Regions from separate parts of the Homo sapiens genome. Here regions 1 and 2 are each linked to region 3. Evidence: promoter capture Hi-C in human tissues and cell types (Jung and others, 2019). All regions are on one chromosome and are shown on one strand. The core of a region is centred on a gene start or on the middle of the fragment in contact, and the rest is flanking DNA. Distances in the headings are between cores, read along the strand shown.

Evidence for each region. The method cuts DNA at HindIII sites, captures the fragments that hold promoters and counts their contacts. A contact is called where the count stands out against the background at its distance.
Region 1: a fragment that was not itself captured here is called in contact with the fragment with the promoter of KSR2 in region 3 in 1 of the 25 tissues and cell types used here (mesendoderm cells).
Region 2: a contact is called between a fragment that was not itself captured here and the fragment with the promoter of KSR2 in region 3, in 1 of the 25 tissues and cell types used here (ovary).

What each region holds. Positions count from the first base shown.
Region 1 is chr12:118,000,843-118,004,833 of GRCh38, forward strand. No RefSeq gene overlaps it. Among named protein-coding and RNA genes, the nearest start is that of RFC5, 14 kb to the right of the region's middle. RefSeq lists a silencer at 3,524-3,716. The HindIII fragment of the contact is 6,287 bases long and covers 1-3,991 here.
Region 2 is chr12:117,922,578-117,926,227 of GRCh38, forward strand. All of the region lies in intron 1 of KSR2 (kinase suppressor of ras 2), which reads right to left. Among named protein-coding and RNA genes, the nearest start is that of KSR2, 45 kb to the right of the region's middle. The HindIII fragment of the contact is 6,411 bases long and covers 1-3,650 here.
Region 3 is chr12:117,967,273-117,970,679 of GRCh38, forward strand. KSR2 (kinase suppressor of ras 2) reads right to left here and starts at 1,718. Exons shown (of 20, transcript NM_173598.6): 1 at 804-1,718. The coding sequence starts at 983. RefSeq lists silencers at 1,731-2,000, 2,011-2,120. The HindIII fragment of the contact is 12,977 bases long and covers 1-3,407 here.

The DNA.
Region 1 (3,991 bases), core at 1,151-3,650, 34 kb after region 3:
CCCAGGTTCAAGTGATTCTCCTGACTCAGCCTCCTGAGTAGCTGGGATTATAGGTGCCCAGCACCACACTGGTCTAATTTTTTTTTTTTTTTTTTGTATTTTTGGTAGCGACGGGGTTTCACCATGTTGGCCAAGCTGGTCTGGAACTCCTGACCTCAGGTGATCCACGCACCTCAGCCTCCCAGAGTGCTAGGATTACAGGCGTAAGCCATCACGCCTGGCCAGTTTATAGTACTTTGACTAAAGACGTCAAGGTACTTTCCCAATAAAAATGTATTTAGGGCGGTGTTTGAATGTCACTGTTATTTTTTAACACTTACAATTTTAAGTGAGAAAGAGCAATCTCACTTAATTAACGTTAAAGCTTAAGCTAAATTCTCCCAGTCTTTAGGATCTGAGGGGTTACCTTTAGTTTATTACCTCTGTGTGTGTCTTCTGCCTGGTGGTCACTTAGGAGTATGGAAGACATGAATAAATTATCTTGTTTTGTTTGTTTGTTTGTTTGTTGAGACAGGGTCTCGCTCTGTTGCCCAGGCTGGAGTTCAATCACAGCTTACTGCAGCATTGACCTCCTGAGCTCAAGCATTCCTCCTGCCTCTGCCTCCCGAGTAGCTAAGACCACAGGCATGCACCACCACGCCTGGCTAATTTTTAATTTTTTGTAGAGATGGGGTTTCACCTTGTTGCTCAGGCTTACCTGGAACTCCTGGGCCCAAGCCCTCCTCCCGCCTTGGCCTCCCAAAGTGCTAGGATTACAGGCGTGAGCCACCATGCCCAGCCTTGTTTTCTCATTCTCATAATACCATATTGCAGACTTGGAATAACTTTCTAATCCTACTAATTGTTTTTAAAGAAAAAACACGATTTTGATTTCGCAAATTTTATCACACCAAGTTCCCCACATTTGGGTACACCAAGATCTTACCATTGAAACCCTTCCTGGTGTTAAGCAGATGGATAATTTTGAAATATGTATGTATGGAATTAAAGTTCTGTGACTATCCAAATATGACAACTTCTTCCATGGCATTTGGAATTATGCAATAGAAAATGTTTTCAGTGATGCCCTTTTATGTGTTAATTTTGCCAAATTTATTCTCAATTATAATTTCAAATCACCTGAGCAACAGAAGAAAACTAGAAGTTGTATCAAAACCAAGAACTTATTTGAGTTTAGCATTAAGGACAGATTTTTAATTAATTGGCTCAAACTGACGATAACCCATATTCAACAAGCCAGTTCTGGTTGACATTTCCCAAAATATGACATATTGAATATGTTATTTTTGTCCAATATCTCTTAAATTAAGAAAAAAACTAAAGCAGAGGATATAAAATGATTTACTCTCATGTGACTCAGGAAACTTTAGTTACTCTTTTAAGAAAGAAATTTGCTTTTGTTAAAATTTGTACTTTAAATGATCTTTAAATTTCAAGTCCTAATAAACAAAAACTAGCTGAGTGTGGTGATATGTGCCTGTAGTCCCAGCTACTAGAGAGGCTGAGGTGGGAGGATGGAGCAAGACTGGGGGATGGTGCCACCACTGCACTCCAGCCTGGGCAACAGAGCAAGACCCTGTCACAAAACAAAACAAAACAAGAAAAACAAATGTTTTTCAAGCCTTTTTCATGACACAATTGTCCAATCTTCATATTAGTGAATGTGCCAGATATTTTAATTTCCTGCAGATCTGCCAAGTTTCTTCAGTTCAGAGCAAGACTTACTCTAAGGTGCTTCTCATTTAAAAGAATAATCTTAAAGCATTTTAAAAAATATATTTTGATAGTCTATATTTGAACCACAAAAAATATCTTCAAGCTTAAAAATTCTCCTCCATATTGACTTGGGGCAAACTTGGTGCCTCAATTTTGTTTTCTTTTCTTTAGTATTATTATTATTATTATTATTATTATTATTATTATTATTATTATTCTAATAGAGATGAAATTTTGCCTTGTGGCCCAGGCTGGTCTTGAACTCCTGGGCTCAAGCAATTCACCTGCATTGGCCTCCCAAAATCTGGGATTACAGGTATGCAGCACCATGCCTGGCCCAATTTTCTTTTCTTTTCTTTTTTTTTTGAGAGGGAATCTTGCTCTGTCACCCAGGCTGGAGTGCAATGGTATGATCTCAGCTCACTGCAACCTTCACCTCCTGGGTTTCAGTGATTCTCCTGCTGCAGCCTCCCGAGTAGCTGGGATTACAGGCATGTGCCACCACGCCCGGCTAATTTTTGTATTTTTAGTAGAGGTGGGGTTTCACCATGTTGGCCAGACTGGTCTCGAACTCCTGACCTCAGGTAATCTGCCTGCCTTGGCCTCCCAAAGTGCTGGGATTGCAGGCATTAGCTACTGCGGCCTGGCCCAATTTTCAATGCTTACTCTCTTGCTGTAATTTTCAGCATTGCATTTATTTAAAATGTACATTTTAGGGGCCACGTGTGATGGCTCATGCCTGTAATCCCAGCACTTTGGGAGGCTGAGGCGGGGGGGATCACTTGAGGTCAGTAGTTCAAGACCAGCCTGGCCAACACGTTGAAACCCCATCTCTACTGATAAATACAAAAATTAGCCAGGTGTGGTGGTGCACATTTGTAATCCCAGCTACTTGGGAGGCTGAGGCAGGAGGATCGCTTGAACCTGGGAGACAGAGGTTACGGTGAGCCAAGATTGCACCATTGCACTCCAGCCTGGATGACAGAGACAGACTCCATCTCAAAAAAATAAAAATTAAAAATTAAAATATGCACTTTAAAAATCACATTGCCTGGCCAGGTGCAGTGGCTCACAACTGTAATGCCAGCACTTTGGGAGGCTGAGGCAGGTGGATCTCTTGAGCCCAGGAGTTCAAGACCAGCCTGGGCAATATGGTGAAACCCTGTCTCTACAAAAAATACCAAAATATTAGCCGGGCATGGTGGCATGTACCTGTGGTCCCAGTTACTCGAGAGGCTGAGGTGAAAGGATTGCTTGAGGCCAGGAGGCAGAGGCTACAGTGAGCTGAAATAGAGCCACTGCACTCCAGCCTGGACAAGAGTGATACCCTGTCAAAAAAAAAAAAAGCCATTAAACTTGGGCCAAATGCTTTGAAAGAGTGAGTTTAGAGGAACTGGAGGAATGGGATAAAATGTCTATAAACAGCCATTCTTTGTGTAGCATCTACTATATAACAAAATGTTGTGTAACTCTGCCATGCAACATAAATAATGCTACTGATTTGCATTTTCTTATTACTTGGCATTCTCAAATGAATTCTACAGTCTTTTGCCAATATTAAGGTCTATTTCTCACTTCCTTACATCCCCAGGGTCCCTAGTATGATGGCAGAGGGGCAATAAACTGTCCCCTTGTTGTGCACACAGAGCTTACAATAGGTATGCACCCAATTGCTTTTTCATCTCTGCATTTTCTTTTTTAATTTACTTGCTTTTTTTTTTTTTTTTTGAGATGGAGTCTCACTCTGTCACCCAGGCTGGGGTGCAATGGCATGATTTTGGCTCACTGCAACCTCTGCCTCCCAGGTTCCAGTGATTCTTCCGCCCCAGCCTCCTGAGTAGCTGGGATTACAGGCACCCGCCATCATGCCTGGCTAATTTTTTGTATTTTTGTAGAGACAGGGTTTCACCACGTTGGCCAGGCTGGTCTTGAACTCCTGACCTCAGGTGATCCGCCTGCCTTGGCCTCCCAAAGTGCTGGGATTACAGGCGTGAGCCACCGTGCCCAGCCCATCTCCGCATTTTTAATGTCACAAACCCAAAAGCTGTGTGGTCTCAGGCTGGACCACTGCCAAACATGGCTAGGATAATGTAAGTACTTTGACCACATCCTTATTAACACCTTTTTATCTTTCTCAGTCCCCACGACTTTGGGGTTTCTAGCCTAGGGAAATTACACGGGATTCCATGTAGGGAGAAAAAGGGAAAATTTCAAAATAAATCTTTTTTAAATTTTACCAGCCTAGAGGGACTATTATTAGTGTGACAGAATAACA
Region 2 (3,650 bases), core at 127-2,626, 45 kb before region 3:
ACTCAGTAGATTTGACAGATCTGTGCCTGACGAGTGCTCTGCTGAGAAAGAACTACATTTCAAAAGAAGGGAAACACACCTAAGCCAAACACAAATATTTAGAGCTTTAAGACCCAAAGCAAAAAATATCCACTCTTCCTTGGGGATTCACTCATCCATCTACCACATACAAGGTGCACAACAGCAAGATCTTGCCCCTCATGGAGCTCACAATTGAGTGGAGAATGGAGAATAAAGAAAATAGTCCGTCCTCATTATTTGTGGATTATTCCATTTGGAGATTTGTCTACTCACTGAAATTTATTTGTAACCCCAATATCAATACACATGGTCTTTTCACGGTCATCTGGGGACATACGAACATACAGTGAAAAACATGAGCTGCCCGATGTACATGATGCCAGGTGAGATCCAGAAAGGTGACGCTCTACCTTACTTCATATTTTTGTACTTTTTTGGTGACTTCACTATTTAGAATGCCCCCGGTTAGTGATAAAGTGCTACCTAGTGTGTTCCTAAGCTCAAAAAGGCTGGAATGTGCCTTACAGAGAAAATGTGTGTGTTAGATAAGCTTCATTCAGGAATGAGTTATAGTGCTGTTGGCTATGAGCTAAATGTTAATGGATCAACTATCTATCATCTATCTATCTATCTATCTATATCTATCTATAAAATAAGGTGTCTTTAAACAGAAACACGTATAAAATGATCGGTTGGTAAATTTAGGGCCAAAGGCTTGCAGAAACCTAACCCTGTTATCTCCCCTGCAGATTCAATATTCGTTAACTCAGGATTCAGGAAAACTTTATAGAATATAACTGCCATGATGCCAGATGTAGTGGCTCATGCCTGTAATCCCAGCACTTTGGAAGGCCAAAGTGGGAGGACTGCTTGAGGCCAGGAGTTCAAGACCCCATCTCCACTAAAAATTTAAAAAATTAGCCAGACATGGTGGCACATGCCAGCAGTCCCAACTACTCAGGAGGCTGAGGTGGGAGGATCGCTTGAGCCCAGGAGGTCAAGGATACAGCGAGCTATGATCACACTACTGCACTCCACAGACTTTTGAGATACTGTCTTAAAATATATATGTGTGTGTGTGTGTGTGTATGTATATGTGTATGTGTATATATACGTATATATAACTGCCATGAATAATGAGAATTGACTGTAATCCAAATCTATAAACATAATGAAACAAACAACTAAGTAAAGAAGAAAACAGGGGTGTGCTGCTTTATTCAGTATTTGTAGTATTCTATGTTTTGTGTAACAAAGGAGTTGACATTAATATATATTTGCTTTTTTTTTTTTTTTGAGACAAGAGTTTCACGCTTGTTGCCCAGGCTGGAGTGCAATGGTGTGATCTCGGCTCACCACAACTTCCACTTCCGGGGTTCAAGTGAATCTCCTGCCTCAGCCTCCCGAGTAGCTGGGATTACAGGCATGCGCCACCACGCCTGGCTAATTTTGTATTCTTAGTAGAGACGGGGTTTCTCCATGTTGGTCAGGCTGGTCTCGAACTCCCGACCACAGGTGATCCTCCCACCTCGGCCTCCCCAAGTGCTAGGATTACAGGCGTGAGCCACTGCGCCCGGCCTATATTTGCTTTTTTAATAGAGGTTAAAACTTAAAACTGAAAAACTAAAATAAATCAATCTACTGTAGATATCAAGTTGGTGACATAACTATATAGAAAAAAAATTTAGGCCAGGCACGGTGGCTCATGCCTGTAATCCCAGCACTTTGGGAGGCTGAGGCGGGCGGATCATGAGGTCGGGAGTTTGAGACCAGCTTGGCCAACATGGTGAAACCCCGTCTCTACTAAAAAAAATACAAAAAAATTTAGCTGGGCATGGTGGCAGGCGCCTGTAATCCCAGCTACTCAGGAGGCTGAGGCAGGAGAATCACTTGAACCCGGGAAGCAGAGGTTGCAGTGAGCTGAGATCGTGTCATTGCACTCCAGCCTGGCTGACAAGAGTGAAGCTCCATCTCAAAAAAAAAAAAAAAAAAAAAAAAGAAAGAAAGAAAAGAAAGAAATACGGGCATGAAGGAAGAAGTTAAACTATGCCCCTAAGGAGGCATAAAAAATCTATAGTACAAATGACTCCGTTTCTTCAACAAATAAGTAATGTGGGGAAGAGGGAGGTGGAACTATGGAAGTTAAAAACTTAAGAGACATATGAACCAAATGCAATGTAAGAACCTGTATAGATCCCAATTCAAACAAGTCAACTGCAGCAAGACATTTTAAAGACCTGGAGATATTTGAACATGGACTGGATATTAAATGATATTGACAAATTAATGTTTTGTTTTATAAGCTGTGGTAGTAGCTTTCTGTAACATTATTTTAAAAGGCCTTACCTGTTTGAGATGCATACTGAAGTATTTACAGATAAAAATCTATGACCTCTGGGATTTGCGTCAAAACACTCCCACACACACACAAGTAGGACAGAAACAAATGAAACAAGATTGGCAAGACGTTGATTATTGTTGAATCTGGGTGGTAAGTACAAGGAAGTTTGTTATACTATATTTTCTTTCTTTTTTTTTTTTTTCAGACAGGGTCTCACTCTGTTGCCCAGGCTGGAGTGCAGTGGTTTGATCTTGGCTCACTGCATCCTCCACCTCCCAGGCTCAAGCAGTCCTCCCACCTCAGCCTCCTAAGTAGCTGGAACTATAGGCTCACGCCACCATGCCCAGCTAAGTTTTGTATTTTTAGTGGAGATGGGGTTTCACCACGTTGCCCAGGCTGGTCTCGAACTCCTGGCCTCAAGCAGTCCGCCCACCTCAGCCTCCCAAACTGCTGAGATTATAGGCATAAGCCACCACGTCCAGCTTATATTTTCTTTTATATTTAAATTTTCCATTTAAGAAAACTTTTTAAATAGTCTCTTACTGACCTTACTCTTTAAAGGAGAAGATCATTAATGCTGACAGTTTTTAATCAATTACTGAGTTGTTCACTATTATTTTAATAGACAGTGGTATTTTACATAATAATAATTATAGTAATGACAGCAGCAATGGCTATTAATATTATTACTTACTGCATGTCTGATATAAGGCTAAGCATTTCACATGTATTATCTTATTAAATCCTAACCCTGATAGGTAGGTCTAGTATGGTCTATATTTTACAGATGGAAAAAACTGAGGTACACAGTTGCTCAAAGACGCATGGCTAGTAATCAGCAAATCAGATTTGAACCCAGGACTGATTCCAAAGTGTGTGCTGGGGTAGGGGTTTAGCTAGTACGGGACAGGGCCCAATGTAGCCTTTTCAGAAACAAAGTAATGGGTGCCTATGGATATTCTTCATGTAGGTCTGGAATCAAACAACAGAGAAAAGCCTGTAATCCCAGCACTTTGGGAGGCTGAGGCGGGCAGATCACTTGAGGTCAGGAGTTCAAGACCAGCCTGGCCAACATGGTGAAACCCTGTCTCTACTAAAAACATAAAAATTAGCCAGGCGTGGTGGTGCACCCCTGTAATCCCAGCTACTCAGGAGGCTGAGGCAGGAGAATCACTTGAACCCAGGAGGCGGAGGTTGCACTGAGCCGAGTTCACGCCCCTGCAATTCCAGCGTATGTGATAGAGTGAGACTCCGTCTCAGAGAAAAATAACAACCGAGAAAAGGGGAG
Region 3 (3,407 bases), core at 468-2,967:
CCGGAGAGAATGTCACAAGAAGCCAAAGATAACTCCTCCTCCCCGACCCCTTTCCTCTTTCCTCACAGTCCCACTGAGATTCAGGAGTATTCTCCCACACCACCTATGTGTGCTGATTGAGGCATATTTTTTTTTCCCTTTTGTACGTTTTAGGCCTGCAACAGCTCACTGCATCAAAACGATTGGATTGGAAATGGGTAGTTCCATAGGAATTTTTTTTTTCATGCATCTTGCCTCCTGACATGTATATCACTGATTTAAAACAAAAAATCTAAGGAGCAAAAGGAGGGAGGGGAAGAAGGCCAAGAGAAGAAGAGGTCTACACTGACAGGCGGCCCCATTCTGTGAGCAAAAACCACCTTTTGACCACCTGCAGAATGCGCAAGGTCACGTGGGTTCTCTGCAGCTCCTTAATGTATTACCCGGCACACAAGCCCCCGTGGCATATAAACAAATCCACAAGCGGAAAAAAGAGAGAACTCCCTCCTCAGCGAGGAAGCGAATGACAACGGTAACAGCCGCAACAATAATAATAAATAAAGAATAACAATTACTACTACTACTACCACCACCCAGCCAAGCGCAGACGACAGCAGCACAGTAAAAGGATATCCAATGCAGGCTTTGCAAGGAGAGAAATCACAGAAAAGCAAACCGTGCCCACCTTGCTTGCCCACACCACCACCCCCAGCCCCCAATAAACAGAATCAGAGGGAAAGGGGACCGTGGGGAGAAAGGAGGGGGAAAGAAGGATTGCTTTTTTTTTTTTTTTTTTTTTTTTTTTTCCCGTAGGCAACACCTACCTCCAGGGTCCGGATTTCTTTTTGTGTGAGGTCGTTGGAGGTAGCACATTTGGTCCTAAGCCCTTCCAGGTTGGAGATGCTCAAGTCTATCATGTTTTGGACCAGTTCGCACTGCTGTAAGGCTTTTTGCAAACTCAGAGGCTGCTGCTCCTCGCTTTTCGTCATGTTTTCCTCATCCATCGCTTGCTCTGCAACCCCCTTCCCCTCCTCCTCCTCCCAGAGAGAAAAAAGAGGGGGGGGAGTAGAGGTAGTCTACCCTCCGCCTCTCCAACCACTGCGACTTCTCAACAATGTCTCATGAAGAAGAAATCCAACATCTCACACAGGGTTGAGGGGGTGGGAGTGGGAGGAGGGGACAAGAGCCAAAATTTATTATTTTATTTTGGGATATCAAGCGGACTCCATTAGAATGTCTCCTCTCTCTCTGAGTCTCTGGTCCCTGAAAAGGAGAGATGCTGTTTCTCAGAAGCAAACCAGGTGATGTGATGCTGTCTGTACACTTAGGGAGGAGGAGGAGGAGGAAAAAGAAGAGGAGAAGGAGGAGAGAGAGGAGGAGGGAGAGGAGGAGGAGGGAGAGGAGGAGGAGGAGAAGGAAAATAGCGCTCACTCTTTACACACCGGCTCCTTGAAGGACAAAATTATATATTTTTGGCTGGCTTGCTTTTATGTCAAAAAAAATCTGGTTTTCCCCCCTCCCAGTTGCAGGGACACGGCATGGTCCACGGTTTGGAGTGCTTTAGCGCGTTCTCAAGGTGCTGTCTGCATTGCTCCCGCGGCTGCGGCGGCTACTGCGGCTGGCTGCTGTCTCCTCCCCGCGCTGCTGCTGCTGCTGCTGCTGCCGCCGCCGGGCTCCGGGGGTGACGGTTGCTGCAATCGCTCCTGCCTCGCTCCACACCGACATCTTGCCTGTCAATCAAAGGGCGGGGGGGAGCGAGGGAGCGCCGGAGAGGGATGGAGACCAAGCGAGGGACCTGCAGGGGAGCGGGTTGGTGGAGAGGCGCCGTGCGCGCAGCCGCCCCAGCCGGGCCCCGGCCCCGGCGCGCCAGGGACCCGTCGGAGGAGGCGGAGGAGGAGCGCGCAGACTCGCGCACCTGGCCGGGGGGCGGGATTTCTAGGGGCTGCGGAGCTCGCGTGGCAAAGTGAAATTACTACCGGGAGTGCGTGCGAGCGAGCAAGCGAGCGATCGGCGGGCGGGGGCGCGGAGACAGCGCGCGCATCGGGCCCAGCCTGCTCCCGGGGGCGGCGGGGGAGGCCGGGAGTGTGCCCGAGCCTGGAGGCTGGGCGAGGGGGCGGGGAGAGGGATTTGGTGGCGGGGAGCGGGTGGGGGCCACTACTCCTGCACCGCTCTCGCGAGACCGGGCCGGAGTGCTGCTCAGCAGGTGCGCTCCGGCTGGGAGCAGGTGTGCGCCCAACTTTAAAACCCTCGGTGCGCGCCGGAGAGGCGTCGGCGTGAACCTGGGCACATCCCGTCTGTCTTTAGCTCGGGGGTGGTGTGTGTGTGTGTGTGTGTTTGCCTTTTTTGTTCGTTTGTCCTTTGGGTGTGTGTTTGTGTGTGTGTGCCTTTTTTGTTCGTTTGTCCTTTCTTGTTACTGGGGAAAAAATAAAGCGAACCTGATGATCTTCCGTGAATTTCAGGAAGCTGCCTCCTAGACTTGGTAGCCTGGCCCGCCCTGATGGCTTTCCATTTGGCGAGGAAAAGGGCCTTTGCCTTATTCTGAGTATTCCCATGTCCTACAAGTGTCTGTGTGGCCTGACCCCAGCATACCTAACTGACGTTATATCAGCAAACGATGGCTCCACAGTTAAGATGGTTTTTACCTTTTGAAATTTTTGGAAGCCTGGTGAGGTGGCTCATGCCTGTAATCCCCAGAACTTTGGGAGGCAGTCAGGAGGCTCGCTTGAGGCCAGGAGTTTGGGACCAACCTGGGCAACAACATAGCAAGACCCTGTCGCTACTAAAAATTCAAAAATTAAAAATGTAAATAAAATGGTTGGAAAAAAATGAAAATAACATTTTGTGACACGTGAAAGTTATGTGAAATTCACATCTCAGTGTCCACAAGTAAAGTTTTATTGGAGTACCACCACCCATCTGTTTATTGTCTGTGGTTACTCCTGCGTTGTAAAGCAGAGTTGAGTAGCTGCAGCTGAGACCGGTGGTTCACAACACCTGAAAGATTTACTGTCTGGCACTTTACAGAAAAGTTTGCTGACTCTTGATTAAATCTTTGTACTCTATGTCCACAGTGCTCAGAACATGCTTCACCCTAATCCTCTCCTGGTGGGTTTCTTCTTGTCACTGTTAACTCAAATATCATCTCAGAGAGGCCTCATCTCCCTAACCACCTTATCTAATAGTATTCCCAACACACATTGCCCAACAGATGTATTTAGAATGATTAGCAAAAGGCACCTCTTTCTTTAGGTGAACAGAGCCCTGTGCTGAGGACTGAGTAAGACGTGATACTCAGAACACATGGTATAATATGTCACTCTTAAATGAAGCCACTTGAAAAGCAGAGCGAACAGGAGCCAGTGGTGGCCACGTTGAATGACAACCTTTATTTTTAAGTTCTGGGGTAAATGTGCAGGATGTGCAGGTTT